3 separate regions of the Homo sapiens genome follow, and regions 2 and 3 are each linked to region 1. Evidence: promoter capture Hi-C in 16 types of primary human blood cells and fetal thymus (Javierre and others, 2016). All regions are on one chromosome and are shown on one strand. The core of a region is centred on a gene start or on the middle of the fragment in contact, and the rest is flanking DNA. Distances in the headings are between cores, read along the strand shown. Region 1 holds the start of OSBPL7 (oxysterol binding protein like 7). Region 2 overlaps TBKBP1 (TBK1 binding protein 1). Region 3 has its middle 9.6 kb from the start of TBX21.

The links. Contacts are between HindIII fragments. The CHiCAGO score rates a contact against its expected background, and 5 or more counts as called.
Region 2: a contact is called between a fragment that was not itself captured here and the fragment with the promoter of OSBPL7 in region 1, in 2 of 17 cell types (M1 macrophages and M0 macrophages). The highest score is 7.0, in M1 macrophages.
Region 3: a fragment that was not itself captured here is called in contact with the fragment with the promoter of OSBPL7 in region 1 in 1 of 17 cell types (M1 macrophages); the score reaches 5.1 in M1 macrophages.

The regions. Positions count from the first base shown.
Region 1 is chr17:47,819,455-47,824,242 of GRCh38, reverse strand. OSBPL7 (oxysterol binding protein like 7) reads left to right here and starts at 2,449. Exons shown (of 23, transcript NM_145798.3): 1 at 2,449-2,577; 2 at 3,878-4,039; 3 at 4,147-4,272; 4 at 4,461-4,514. The coding sequence starts at 3,965. It overlaps MRPL10 (mitochondrial ribosomal protein L10), which reads left to right. Exons shown (of 5, transcript NM_145255.4): 5 at 1-971. The coding sequence ends at 38. RefSeq lists an enhancer at 1,991-2,160 and a silencer at 2,271-2,486. The HindIII fragment of the contact is 20,101 bases long and covers 1-4,788 here.
Region 2 is chr17:47,703,331-47,708,118 of GRCh38, reverse strand. All of the region lies in intron 7 of TBKBP1 (TBK1 binding protein 1), which reads right to left. Among named protein-coding and RNA genes, the nearest start is that of TBKBP1, 12 kb to the right of the region's middle. RefSeq lists a silencer at 3,716-3,815. The HindIII fragment of the contact is 1,982 bases long and covers 1,941-3,922 here.
Region 3 is chr17:47,721,228-47,726,015 of GRCh38, reverse strand. No RefSeq gene overlaps it. Among named protein-coding and RNA genes, the nearest start is that of TBX21, 9.6 kb to the left of the region's middle. The HindIII fragment of the contact is 8,318 bases long and covers 1-4,788 here.

The sequences.
Region 1 (4,788 bases), core at 1,200-3,699:
ATGGGAAGCCAGATCCTGACACTGTTCCGGACTCGTAGCCAGCCTGTTTAGCCAGCCCTGCGCATAAATACACTCTGCGTTATTGGCTGTGCTCTCCTCAATGGGACATGTGGAAGAACTTGGGGTCGGGGAGTGTGTTTGTCACTTGGTTTTCACTAGTAATGATATTGTCAGGTATAGGGCCACTTGGAGATGCAGAGGATTCCATTTCAGATGTCAGTCACCGGCTTCGTCCTTAGTTTTCCCAACTTGGGACGTGATAGGAGCAAAGTCTCTCCATTCTCCAGGTCCAAGGCAGAGATCCTGAAAAGATAGGGCTATTGTCCCCTGCCTCCTTGGTCACTGCCTCTTGCTGCACGGGCTCCTGAGCCCACCCCCTTGGGGCACAACCTGCCACTGCCACAGTAGCTCAACCAAGCAGTTGTGCTGAGAATGGCACCTGGTGAGAGCCTGCTGTGTGCCAGGCTTTGTGCTGAGTGCTGTACATGTATTAGTTCCTTTACTGCTGACCACATTGTACCCATTTCACAGAGAAGGAGCAGAGAAATTAAGTGGCTTGCTCAAGGTCATGCAGTTAGTAAGTGGCAGAACAGGGACTTGAACCAAGCCCTCTGCTCTGAAGACCGCGTCCTGAATTTCTTCACTAGAGCTTCCTCATCAGGTTACCCAGAAGTGGGTCCCATCCACCATCCAGGTGTGCTTGGATGTTAGTTCTCCACCCTCGAGGTGTACGCTGTGAAAAGTTTGGGAGCACTGCTTTATAATAAAATGAAATATATTCTACTTCCTTTATTTTGTGGTTTACACGGTTGTCCTCCCTCTAAACTTACTCTCAGGGGCTTCTCTGTCATCTGACTTTCCTCACTCTTGCTTCCCTTCCTAGGAAAATCCTCTTCCCCTATACCTGTTCCCACAAATGGCATCCCGCGCATGCTTGCCCTATTAAAGGCAGCTGACAGCTGTACCCACTAGCTAACGTGTCTCTGGTGGTTCTGGACAAAAGGCCTGCGGGAAAACTAGGATTCTCTATTAATGGGGAATTCTGAGAGCTCTAGGGTAGGAGGCCTCATGCAAGTCTTCATGAACCAGAAATTCCTAATAAAGGAGACGGGATGCTTAACTCAGAGTCCACCATCATCCTTGACTGGAGCACATTCTGGGTGGATGCAGGGGTGACCCGGGGAAGGTGGCTGTTCAACATTCCTTCTCGGACTTGAAGCAATGCCACCGCTTCCTTAGTCTTGGACAGGCACTGTCTGGCAGGGATGACCTGCAGCAGCTCTTTTGTGGCCTGGGCCAGGACCAGCTTCCCCCAGTGCCTCATCCTGTGCTGTATGCCCAGGGATGTTCAATCACTGGGAAGTGGCTTAAAAGGCCCTTGAGGCTCCTGGATGCCAGAGCTTGTCTGGTCAGTGCTGCCCAGTGCTCCTGTCCCTCCCAGAACCCTGCCAGGTGCTAACAACACCCTCCTCCTGGGGTGGCTGGAGCAGCACTGAGGCTCTGAATAAAGGCAAGACAGTGGGTGTTCCCGAGAGATATGTGAGACCCTGAAACGTAAACCAAGCTCGGTGAGGATGAAGTGGAAGGGATAAGTGGCCCATGTCACTTTTGGGGTCAGAGAAGAAACTTGAATCACATCCTTCACCTGAGGCCCCACCTACTTCTTTCCAGAAAACTTAGCTGCGCTTGAAACTGTAGGTCTATGCCACATTCATTTGAATGAATTTTAGATCTTTGTTAAGAGCCGATTTTTCATTAGAATTGAGCAGCTGGGCACAGTACTCCAGCAGAAGGGTAAAGGGAAGGGAGGGGACCAGCATTGCAGCCCTTTTAACGGCAGCTGTGACTGCCCCAGGCCTGCTCCTGATCAGAGACTGCAGGCTGTGGGGTGTCTTCATACACACAAGCACTTTCAGATCTCCATGGGGCCTGACCTAGTGGGGCATCACCCCAGTGAAGGGCCTCAGTGTGGGGACTGCTGGCTGTCCCTTTCCTGGCTTGACTGCCCCTGCTGACTGTGCTCTTGGCACTCTCTTATGGTCCCAGAGGGGGCATCTGTCCCTCCACCATCAACCTGATACTTTTGCTGGCTCCAAATTTTGCAGTCTATTTTCAGATGTAAAATGAGAGGCGGGGGGCGGGGGTTAATTAGGAATTGGCCTTGGGTACTAACAGGGTCACTGCCATGCTAGTCTGAATAAATCCTTTATCACCACTGGCGTACAGCCAACAGTTCCCCAGTCCTCTGATCTATCTGGAACCATGCCCAGCAGGGACTGTGCCCCCACTCCCAAGCCACATCGATGCTAGGGCAGTCTGCTCAGCCCTGAGTCCTCCGGGGAGCAGGGGGGCAGAGCTGAGCGGCTGCCCGGAGCTTGGCGGGAGGAGGGGACAGGGGAGAGGGAGGTGGGGAGATCCGGCTAGAGGGGAGGCTCTGACATCTCCTTCCTTCCTGGTTCCTGCAGCAGCTGCTGCCACTGCTCAGCGCGGTGAGGAGGGAGCCGGTGACTCGGAGACGGTGACTCAGAGGCAGAGCGGCGCAAGGGCCAAGGAGTACTGGCGTCCATGGACCCTGGGGTAAGGGGGCTGCGTGGCAGCAGCTGACATTCCTGAGAAGAGCTTCCTCCCACCTGAAGCTGGTGGGTCTGCTCCTGAATAGAGGTGGAGAGGGGGCACCCACCTGGCTCACCTAGACCCTTCACCTGCCTACCGATAGAGCCTCCCCCTCTACCCACAAGCAGTGAGGGGCCAGGATCCCCACAGGGCCGGGAGAAGGGCCCAGAGATACCTGAACACCGGAAGAGTTTGAGAACTTTCAATGGCTGAATGCAGGAGTTTCCTCCCAGGTCAGCCTCTTGCAGCAAGGGTCCCTCTGCCCCAACCTCCTGGGCACCCGTTCCTGCCACATCCCTGTCCCCTCTGGGCCTCAGTTCCTCAGGTGCTTGCTAGCTCCATTAGAAGATCTGGGCTGCTTCCCCCACCTCAAACCAGCCTCGCCCCTCCAGTCCCCTCCCCCGTCTCACACATGCAGAGCCTCATGCATTATTGATCTCCCGGTGGAGCCAGGATGGCCAGGGCCAGTGCCAAGGGTGCCTGTGGGCACTGCTGCAGGACCTGTGCAGACCTGGGCATGTCCTGGGCCCCCTCTTCTCTCATGAAGTATCTCCTTTAGCCCAATGTCCTGCCCTCTCTGGGTGGGTGGCACTTCTCAGAGCCCCAAGGACTGTGAGGGTAGACAGGGGATGGTGAGGCTTTAGGGGGTACTGAGGGTCCAAAAAGGGCATCCTAGGGGCATGTTTGGTGGGAGGAGACATGGGAAAATGGGGGCTATCTCAGGCCTCAGTTTCTCCAAGCACTAGATAATATGGAGATTAATTGGTGGGAGGCTGGGGAGTTTTCTGCAAGATCATGGCAGAGAAGTCTCTGAGCTACGGTGGCAGGGTGGAGGGGTCCTGAAGGCAGAGGCAGCTGGATTGAGGAGGTCTCGCTTGTCCAGTCTCTGAACCCCTCTGTCTCTTCTTGGAGCCTCTTCTGTCACTCCCTTGCTTCACCTCTGAGCACTCCCAGGGAAGCCTCTAAAGAAAGCACTGAATGTTTCTTGGAGCCCCAGAGTATGTGCCCAAGGCGGGGCTGGGCATATGTCTTGTGGTTTTCCCTGGGCACCTGCCCGTCTGCTGTGTGCTAGTTCACTCTCAGGGCAGTGTCCATATCAGGTGAAAATGGGTGGGGTCGGGACAGAGGGGCAGACTTGGGAGAGGCTTGGCAGGTGAGCAGAGGGTATGTTGGGGAGCCCTTATCTCAGAGGGTGTGGGAGGGGCTGGAGGTGGGGAAGGTGATAGCAGAGTTTGCGTTAAGGGGGTCTTTCTCTTGCTTCAAGGACCCCGTCAGGAGCAGGTGACATCCTTCCCCTTCCACCCTGCTCCCTGCTCTACATCCCCAGCAGGGAGTGGCCTCTCCCTTCTCCATGGACTTCCAAGAGAGGGACCCGCCCTTCCTGCCTGAGAGCGCTCAGTCCTCAAAGCCCAGCAGTGCTCAGCAGGTCAGAGAGTGGGAAAGCGGTGGTGGGTGGGCCAAGCTGGAACCAGACAGGGAGGGGCCAAGGCGGACGTCTCACCAGTGCTCCCCTCCCTCTGTCCTGGACTGCAGGCCTCTGAGCTGTGGGAGGTGGTGGAGGAGCCTCGGGTCAGGCTGGGGACAGAGGGTGTCATGCCTGAGAGGCAGGAAGGTCACCTGCTCAAGAAGAGGAAGTGGCCTCTGAAGGGCTGGCACAAGGTAGGGTGGGCAGGCAAAGGGAGGGTCCAGACATGGGGGGCGGGGTGGGAATGGGGGGCAGCTGCTGGGCAGTCCAATGGTGTTTGCATGATGAGAAGGAAAAGAAAAGCTAATTTGTGTGGTTGCCTTCTCCCTCATGCCCTTCCTCTCGGCCTCCCGGGTCCTGTCACTCCTGGGCAACATCACAGAGATACTTTGTGCTCGAGGACGGGATCCTTCATTATGCAACAACCCGGCAAGACGTGAGCCCGGGCAGTGGCTTGGGGTTGTGGGAGGAGTCTGGCCCCAGTATGCCCTGGGCAGGCATGGGGTATCTGGAATCGACCAGAGCAGGGTCTGAATCCCAGGTCCACCACTTGCTGAATGTGTGATCTCGGGCAAGTTACATCCCTGGGCCATAGCTTCCTCACCTCTAATGGGAGAGCACCATCCCCCAGGTGCAGAGCTGTCATGGTAAGGGAGGTCATACGTACAAGGCTCTCTGGACAGGGCAGAATAAGTGCCCAAGAAATGGGG
Region 2 (4,788 bases), core at 1,682-4,181, 120 kb after region 1:
CAAGGGCTCCCTGAATCCCTGCATCAGGCACTGTCCGTGGTCTGAACACAGCTCATACAGGTATGTGTGAATGTTTTTCTAATCTGTGCAAAAGCTGTGATGATGAATTAAAGCACCGATTCATCAAAAAGCTGTACTGAATTTATAGTAGCTTCTGTCACTGTGAATTTTCTCAAGCAATGCATACTAAAAGTGTTATAATCTGTGTACTGGGAGTGGGATCCATGAAGAGTCCTCACCTTTGAAAAGGTTGGGGACCCTGCTGCATAGAATAGCTCGTTCCATAAGTGAAGATGGTTTCCTGGCTGGTGGAGGTGCTAACTGATAAACTTAACCCCAAGCCAGCCCAATTCCATGTCCACTGCACCTGGCTCGACCTCAAAGCTGCCTCTGGGCTCTTTTCAGCTTTGCCCCTCCCAGGACCTCCTTGCTGTACAACTCCACCAGGGCCTTAACACTGAGATCTTTGTGAACAGCTGCTGTACACTGCACACTTGCAGTGAGTGCCAGTCACACCAGGCACTTCTCAAAGGCTGCCTTGTTCTAGAACTTTATGGGAAGTTTCTTGATGGTGAGGATTACGTCATTGTATTTATATTCCCACCACCTTGTCCAGGGCCTGGAACCCAGCAGATGTTCAGTAAGTGGATAATGCATTTGAGCCTCTCCCTCCATTTTTCTTTCTCCTTCCCTTTCTTCCTCCCTGCTTCCTGTTCAGGCATCTTGGGCACCCACCCTCATGGAGCTGGAACAGACTTGGCAAGGAACCTCACCCACTTCCTTTATCTCTAGGTCACTTGCAACCCAGAACCATGGAAGGTCATCACTCCACTGCTCTCTGCTTTCTCCCACTGTGGCCTGCACGGCCCCAGGAGCCCTCCCTGACCTCATGGGAAGCTCTGCCATGCCCTTGGGCCCTGCCTTCATCACTGTTCTGAGTGTGGACAGAGCCTTGAATCTCCCTGAAGGCAGAGATTTAGGTTTCTTTGGCTCTCCCCACCTCCAGCTCCAGAAGGGACTCGGGGAACTTAGTGGAAGATGGAGCTGGGAGAAAATACCAGGTGTCACTCCACACAGATCTCTTCCCAGGGGAGGTCTTGTCCCAGGACAAGGGGGCTCAAGTTCTTAAGCCTGGAGGGCCCTGTCCCCATCCCATAGTGATGGACATGTGGATGGGAGAGTGTGAAGAGAGGTGTGAGGCCAGGCTGATGAATGAGGAAAGGCGTGAATGAGCGTAGGGGTGTGTGCGTGTGTGTGTGTGTGTGTGTGTGTGTGTGTGTGTGTGTGTGTCTAAGTCTAACCCTAAAGGAGAGGAGGGGAAGTCGTGAGGTTAGGGCTTCAGAGGGCAGGAAAAGAGAGGTGGAGAGGGTAGATAATGACTAGGCTCCCTGCTGTCGCTCACTGGCTGTCTCTTACTAATCCTGGGGCAGAAACTGCCCCTCCCACAAGACTATTTTTAACCCACTTGGGCCAAAGCCAAATTACTGCAAATGGGCCAGGTCTCTGGGAGACAGCCCTCTTCTTAGGGAGGGAGTCCTCGCCACCCATCTGATGGTGAGCAGGGCTGGGCAGGCAGAGAGGAAGGAGTCCCAGAAGCTGCTGCTGAGACCCTGCAGCCTCCATCCCATCACATCTCAGCCCTTGTTTTTGTTAAATGTGTCCTGTGCCCCCTCATCCTCAGCTCATGGGTCTGTGGGAAGAAATGGCATCTCCCCCATCAGACTGGGAGGTCCAGGTGTGTCCCACGTCAAATTGGGGACTCCCCAAGGGAAGGCTTCCCCTTCAGACTGAGGACATCTGTGGGCAGGAGCTGTGTGTCCCCCATCAGACTGGCGGTTTTTGGAGGGCAGGATCGTGCTATCTCCTTGGCAGCAGGGGAAGGAGAGGGCTCTGGGCAGGGCACAGACAGAGTGTGGTCCTCTGTCCACATAGCCAAAGCTTCTCTCACCATCCATTTTCACTGCTGTATCTCAGGCGACAGATACAGGTCGTCGTCTTCACACCCCGCCTCAGAGATTTCACCTGCCACACTCAGTTCCCAGGTCCCTGTCACTCCCCTGCTTGCCTCCCTCCCCTTGTCAGGAGCTACCCCAGTTTCTACCACCCAGCCCCTGGCATCCTTCTCACAGTGAAACAGACAGGGTGGCTGAAAATGGAAGGAAGAAGCCCTGGCCCACAATGCCCAGCCCCTCTCCCAGCTCTGCCACCTGGGGCCTGAGGCAGGTGGGTTCTGTCCACCCAGAACTTCAGGCAACCCTCACAAAGACTGCTAAGTCCCCGGCAAGGTGATTGACTTGACCTCCTCCTGATGCCCCATGGCCTTTTGGGACCTCCCCCTTCATTGGGTGTCTCTCTCCATCTCAAGATGCACAGGCCTGGGCCGCTGAAGATGCTAACGACCTGAATGACTCACTGAAAACACTGCCAATTCAGTGGAAAAAAAAATCTCAACTTCACAACACAACCAAGAGTTGCACACGTGCACCGAAATACACATTCCATTTCCTGGCTTCCTGGCCCACACCTGAGTGCTTTTTCACCATCATGACTGCTTGGGAAGAATGGGTCAGGTAAGTGGCAGCAGATGGCTGCATTTGGATGCTGCTTTATTGCTTACATGACAGGAGAAAGTTCTGAGTCTTTCAAAACCTGGGAGGCACCCAGAGAGAAAAGAATCGGATGATCTGTTTGAGTGCTCACCCCGGGGCCAGGCACTCTGCTGAGAACTTTATTCATCTCCACAACAACCCTACGGCATTGCCACTGTTACCTTCATTTTACAGATGAGAAAACTGAGGCTTACAGAGGTTAAGTTACTTGACCAAAATCATAAAGCCTACTAGCAATGGAGTTGCTGGGATGGGAGCTCTGCCCCCTAGACTCCAAAGTCCAGGCTACTGACCATCATGCTATAACGTCCCCCAAAGAAGCGGGAAGGAGGGGAGAGGAAAGGCAAGGCAGCAACAGAAGGGAAAGACGAAGAGGAGGAGGGGACTGGGGACCTTGGCAGTGGCCTGGAAGCCCTGAGAATCACCACCCCTTCCCTGGGGGTGATAGGAAGGTGCTAGACACATGTGGAAGTAGAAAATCAGGGCGATTAAGAGGCTGGCTCAAGGTCACAGAGTGGCAGTGGCACACAGCAGATTCAAACACAGGTTCTTGGCACCTCAGCCTGCCAAGCTGGCAACTTCGGAGGAGCCAGAGAGCAAATGGCAGAGCTGGCAGGAAGGAGGGCCCCCTGGGCTGCAAATATTCCACGCTTCGCATCCTTTCATTCAGTCTTTCCACGAATAATTCACAGATCTCACACACTTCTGGAAACGATAAAGCTGGGGACTGCCTTGAGGACAGGATTAAAGGAGCCAGGGTCAGACTAGGAGTGGGGTTGATGTAGCACGTGGCCAAGATTGTGGACAGAGCTGAAGGTCAGGATCAGGGATAGGGTTAGAGTCAGGGACGGGAGCAGTAAAAGGGTTAGGATTAGGGTTAGGTTTAGAGCTGTCCATGTGGTCAGAATCATCGTCTGATTCAGAATTGGGAGGAAAACAGAAATCCAACCTTCCAGGGCCCTTCCATCCTTGCTCAAAGCTGCCCCCAGCTGCCCCAGCCACCTCACCCCTGTGGGATAATTTAGGGACCAAACTTTCCACCACCCACAGGCACACCCAGCATCAGTCTTCCCGCCCGACCCTCGGGGAGGGGACCACAGGCACCGGGCCGTGGAACGGACTTGAGGTTGCGGGCCGGCGGGGAGGAGGAAGTTGCTTTGCAACAACCCAGTGCTCCACCACTTCCTTTCGGGCGCCTTGAGCCCCTTCTCTCTCCTCGACCAGCTATGACTGGTGGGGTCCCCAGAGCCTGGCTCTTCATGGCAGCCCCTGCCACGAATCCACCAGAGCTGACATCCCGGGTCTAGAAAGCTTCCCAGATGCAGCTGATTGGAGCAGCTCAGGGGTAGGCCTGGAAACCAGGGTTCCTACATAGGTGGGGTGCCCAGAGATCCCAGTTTGCCTAGGACTGTCCCAGTTCACGCTAGTTGCCCCAGCATAATTATTAATAGTGCCCCCTTTCACTTTCAAAAGTGATCCAGTCTGGTCAACAAATCACACGGTTGCCCCTCATATAAGGGCTTTCTACCTGAAGAAGAACCTGAACCAGAAACACACCGCAGAGGTGCCATCACCCGATCTGCTCAGGACCCACTTGGCATCTGCACTGAATTTCTTACTGAACTCTCAGATTACTTCACTTCCCTGCACCTCAGTTTGCTCATCTGTAAAAGGGGGACAATACCTACATCACGTTTGTGAGAATGAAATGAGATTTTGTAGGTAAATCACCTCGCATAGTGTCTGGCATGGACAAAAAAAAAAAAAAATTTCAGGGGAGTGCCTAGCAGATAGGTGGAGAAGGGGGGAAACTTGTTTTGAGCCTTTTTTTGGAGACAGCAGCCTAGTGGCTTCGGTTTAAGGAGGGAAGATGGGCGTTTCCCATCGAGGGAGGGGGCGCTGGCATGAGCTGCTCCCCACCCTGCTGGCAGGCAAAGCACCAAGGACTGGGGCTGAAAGCCCACACATCCCTCAGACCCACCTAGCCTCTGGGAGCCCCCGAGGCTGCAAGTGCTCAGGGGTTAACTCCTGTGAGTGCAGCGCGGGTGCCCTGGCCGAAGGAGACTTGAAAGAAAGGAAGTAGGGAGGGTGAGAAGCGTGAAGGGGGAGGCCCTGGGCCTGCTGGTTCTGGGGCATGAGGCTACGCTCAGGGTATGCGGGGGTCTCCGACTTCCGTCCT
Region 3 (4,788 bases), core at 1,601-4,100, 99 kb after region 1:
CCCCTTTCTGTCCCTTAAGGAGGTATCCCAAAGACCCTTATAGTACCAACAGCCTCTGTGTCTGCGATTCAGCACCACTAGGGGCAGGACAGAGGGAAGAATGGAGGTTAGACAGCAGGAAGGACTTCCTGCCAAGCAGTGGGAGGGTGAGGAGGCCCCAGCTTCTCCCAGCAGTCCTCCAGGGCCCCTCTGTCAGGGCTAGGGGTGGAGGGGCAGGAGTGGGGGGCGTTCAGCAGCTGGGTAATTAGCCATCGCTCTCAGGCCCTGCGGGGAGGGGCTGGCTGGACTGAGAAACCAACGCAAAGTGACAGGGGTGGTTTTGACACGCGGTGGAGCTGACGGGCCCAGGGGGCTGGGGGTTTGGTTTGGGGGGGAAAAATCCCATCAAATGATTAAAAAATAGGTCAGAGGGAAGAAGCCACAGCCGGCACTGGGTCCGTGGTGAGAACGCCATGTCGCTTCCCCAGGGCTGTGGGCCAGAATGGGGTGGGGGAGCTGAGGAGTGTTTGCAGTGGGCGGGTGAGCTGGGAGTGGGGGCAAGAAGGCTGCAGGCCCAGCAGCTGGCCCTCTGCTTCCCTCAACCCTGTCTCACGGGGACATTTTACCTGCAGCCCACCTCCTGGCCTTCCTGTTGTACCATCTTCCTCCTCAAAGGCAGGATGCTGCAGCTCTTCTTCTGTTCCCCCTACCCCACCCACAACATATATACAAACTCCATTCCAGAAACACTGAGGCTACTGCCGCATGTGGAAGCCCTTCTTACCTTCTCACCTAGGGATCTCCTGCGCAAAGGCAGCTTGCTGACTTATCCTACATTTCTTGCCCATCTGAACTAATTCACCTGCCACTGCATCCCCTTTGCCATCTTGCCAACTCTGCAAGGGGTCCACTTTGGCCCTCCAGCTTGTTCTCAGATTGTCCTTTTCCCTCCTTCTCTCCTTTTCTGCCTTCCCAACTTCTGCCACAAATCATAACCACAGTAGCCTGGGAAAGGCAGAGAACAAGGAGGAGTGAGGTAATAGACTCAGGAGCCTGGGACAGGTTGGTGATCTCTAAGCACTTAGAGATCTAAGTAGGTGGAGGCTGATTGACTGTGTCTGCATTGTACAGCAATTTGAGATTCCTGGTAGTGTTCCCCCGATTTAGGCAGTTTACAGCCACCTCCCACCTCCTCTACTGAAGACTGGGACATTCTTTCAGCTGTCTTCCCACAACCCCTTAAATTGCAGCTTAATCCCATTTCCTTTTCTGAGGTCACTGAAACTCATGGAGAGATTAGCACCTGAAATTTGGGAGTAGAACGGAGGCCTGGGATCCACATGCCACAACTCCCTTCCTTATAAATCCTAGGCACAGGCAGAAATCAGGCAAGCAACCAGTGTGTGAAGCAGAGGGACAAACCAGGCATTAGGCTCCCAGCAGTGCTGTCTCCAGCTGAGTGGGCACCTGGGTCCCAGCCACTGGAATGGAGGACACCCAAGGCCATGTTGGCGCGAAAATGGATTGGCTAGGTCTGACCTTGAGTTTAACCCCACTTACCACCCCAGACACAGATCCGCTCTGACACACAAGTCTGAGATTTCCCCAGGAGCCTGCTGTTTGCTGCTTGCCCCGCTCAGTTACCCAGGAAGTGTCAGAAGGCGTCCAGCCTACCTCCTCCCACCAGGGCCATGGGCAGCTGGCTGGACCGAGCTGGGCACTGAGAAGGGCCCTGGACCCACGTCTCTGGCCACAGGGGACATAAAGGTGGCATGGCTGCCCAGCATTGCCCCCTCTCCTTGCTCACCGCCATTTCTTTCCAATCACTGGCATCAGAACCTGACATTCTGTGAGTTGGGAAAGGATGGTTATGGTCAGGCAAGTTCTTAGCAACTGGACCAGTAACTGGGAGTTGAGATACTGACCTCATCACCTTGCATTTCACACACATGCACACACTGAACTAGGGCCACCCAAGACCCAGGGCCCTGCAAATAGGCAGTGGGGCATGGGGCTCCCAGGTTCCCATGCATGACCCTGGATGTTGCCAAATCTAGCTTGTACTTTGTCTCAATCCTTGACTCCCAGTGAGTTTGGAAACTGTAAAAACCCCAGTTCTTCCTAATTAACCCCCTCCTCCTATCACCACTCTGGGTTGAGGGGTAAAGGATGAGATAAGAGAATATCCCGGCCAGGCATAGTGGCTCATGCCTGTAATCCTAGCACTTTGGGAGGCCGAAGTGGGCAGATCACTTGAGATCAGGAGTTCGAAACCAGCCTGACCAACATGGTGAAACCCCATCTCTACTAAAAATACAAAAAAACCTATCTGGTCGTGGTGGTAGGTGCCTGTAATCCCACCTACTAGGGAGGCTGAGGCAGGAGAATTGCTTGGACCCGGGAGGCGGAGGTTGCAGTGAGCTGAGGCTGTACCACTGCACTCCAGCCTGGGCAACAGAGAGAGACTGTCAAAAAAAAAAAAAAAAAGAACATCCCCAGGCAACTCGTACCCTTTATTTCCTTTCTTTCTTTCTCTCTCTCTCTCTTCTTTTTTTTTTTTTTTTTTTTGGTTAAGACTAGTCAATATACCTTTGATTTCATTAGACTTCACAATGGTGTGAAGGCAACTGGGTGGGAACCATTGTTCCCATTTTACAGACAAGGAAACTGAGATATAAAAAAGTTAAGTATCAGCCAGGCACAGTGGCTCATGTCTGTAATCCCAGCACTTTGGGAGGCCGAGGCGGGAGGATCACAGGGTCAGGAGATTGAGACCATCCTGGCCAACATGGTGAAACCCCGTCTCTACTAAAAATACAAAAATTACCTGGTGTGGTGGCACGCGCCTGTAGTCCCAGCTACTCAGGAGGCTGAGGCAGGAGAATTGCTTGAACGAGGGAGTTGGAGGTTGCAGTGATCTGGGATTGTGCCACTGCACTACAGCCTGGTGACAGAGCGAGACTCCATCTCAAAAAAAAAAAAGTTAAGTACCAGCTGGGCACAGTGGCTCATGCCTGTAATCCCAGCACTTTGGGAGGCTGAGATGGGTGTATCACTGGAGGTCAGGAGTTCGAGATCAGCCTGGCCAATATGGTGAAACTCCATCTCTACTAAAAACACAAAAATTAGCCGGGCGTGATGGCACATGCCTGTAATCCCAGATACTAAGAGGCTGAGACAGGATAATTGCTTGAACCCAGGAGGCAGAGGCTGCACTGAGCCGAGATCGTGCCATTGCTCTCCAGCCTGGGCAACAGACAGAGATTCTGTCTCAAAAAAAAAAAGAAAAGTTAAATACCTTGTCAAGATCACATGGCTGGTGACCTAATGAACACTTACTGTGCACTTTCCTGAGTGGAGCCTCCCACACCTGTGTGAAGAGGACACTATCGTTCCCATTTTGCAGATGAGAAGCTGGTGCTCAGAGAGGTGACACAATTTTCCCAGGCTCTCAGTTATTTTTATCCCCTGACCCTCTCTCCTTATAAGGTACCCAACCCAACCCGGGCTGAGTCCTTCTCCTTATTCCCTCTGGAGAAAGGCAAGATGGAAGGGCCCTCTATGTCACCCAGTGAGTGTTCCCCTATGTTTTGGGAAGTCATCCTGGTGTCCTAATTGACATTACCCTTCCCTCAACCCAGGCCTCTTCTCACCTCTCCTGGTGTCCTTTCTGTCTGATGACCCTGCAGAACCCGACCCCGTTACTCAGCAAATCCCATCCTGCTGATGGGGTAGGAGTGGGGAAGCAGGGCTGAGAGACCGAAAGGGGCAGGGACTAGCTTCGTCACACAGCAGCCACTGTGGCAGTGGAGGAAGATGAGTCCAGATGGGAAGGACCCAGGAGTCCTGGTTTCCAGGTGGAGTGAGAGGCAGGAGCCTTCCTCACTTCTCCAAACTCCCTGCCCCAGGCAACGGAGCCCACTGCCAGCCATCCAAGCTGTTAGGTGTTTCTGCCTGAGGAGGGAAGGGGCCTGGGCAGCTCCTAGAATGGGAAGAGAATGCCACTGGGCATGTGCCCTGCCAGGCAGTGCTTCCGTCTTTCTGCCCACGCCTAAGTTCATCACACCTTCTGCTCTGCCCTCCTGCTAATCGAACCTGCACTCTCCTCCCTCTTGCTTTTCACCTTGGGACACGTGAGCCAGTGGCCAAGAGTGAGGCAGCAGAGCCAAGTGGAGCCACCAGCTGCCTCATCCCCTCCATGCCAGCCAGACTGCCTGGGATTCTGGGGATCCCTGTATGCCCCTGCCGCAGCCTCAGCAGTAGCTCTGTCGACAGCTCTTAGGAGCTCCTGTTCCGGGCTGGAAGTGAGGAGGGGGCTTTCCTTGACAACAAACAGGGAAATGGGGGGCCCCACGCCCTGGCCCCAGGCTCTTCTTACGATCTAACCCCCTTGGGGCAGGCCCTTCTTCTCGAAGAAACCCAGGGAAGGCTTCCAAAAAAATCACCTGAGGCAGAGTCCCTTTCTTGCCCCGGGCTATAAGTTCTTCTTCTAGTCTAACCTTGATCCCTTGCAGAGGGGTGGAAGAGGGCAGAGATGAATTGCAGTTTCTTATAAACCTGGTGGCTTCTAGTTCCCCGACGACAATACAGCGGAGGAGCCCTGTGGTTCTGGCTCTGAGTCAGGCCCCATCGCCCGGGCGTCCCCAGTGCCATCTCCCTCCGCCCCTCCCCGGACTGGAAAATCAGGCTCATGCCTCTGCCGAGAGTCAGTGCTTCCCCTCCTTCCCCTCACCATCTCGCTTTCCCCTAAAGGGAGGTGTTTCCTCGAAGCAGGGAAAAGTCAAGGGGGCAGAGACCTCACCAGCCACC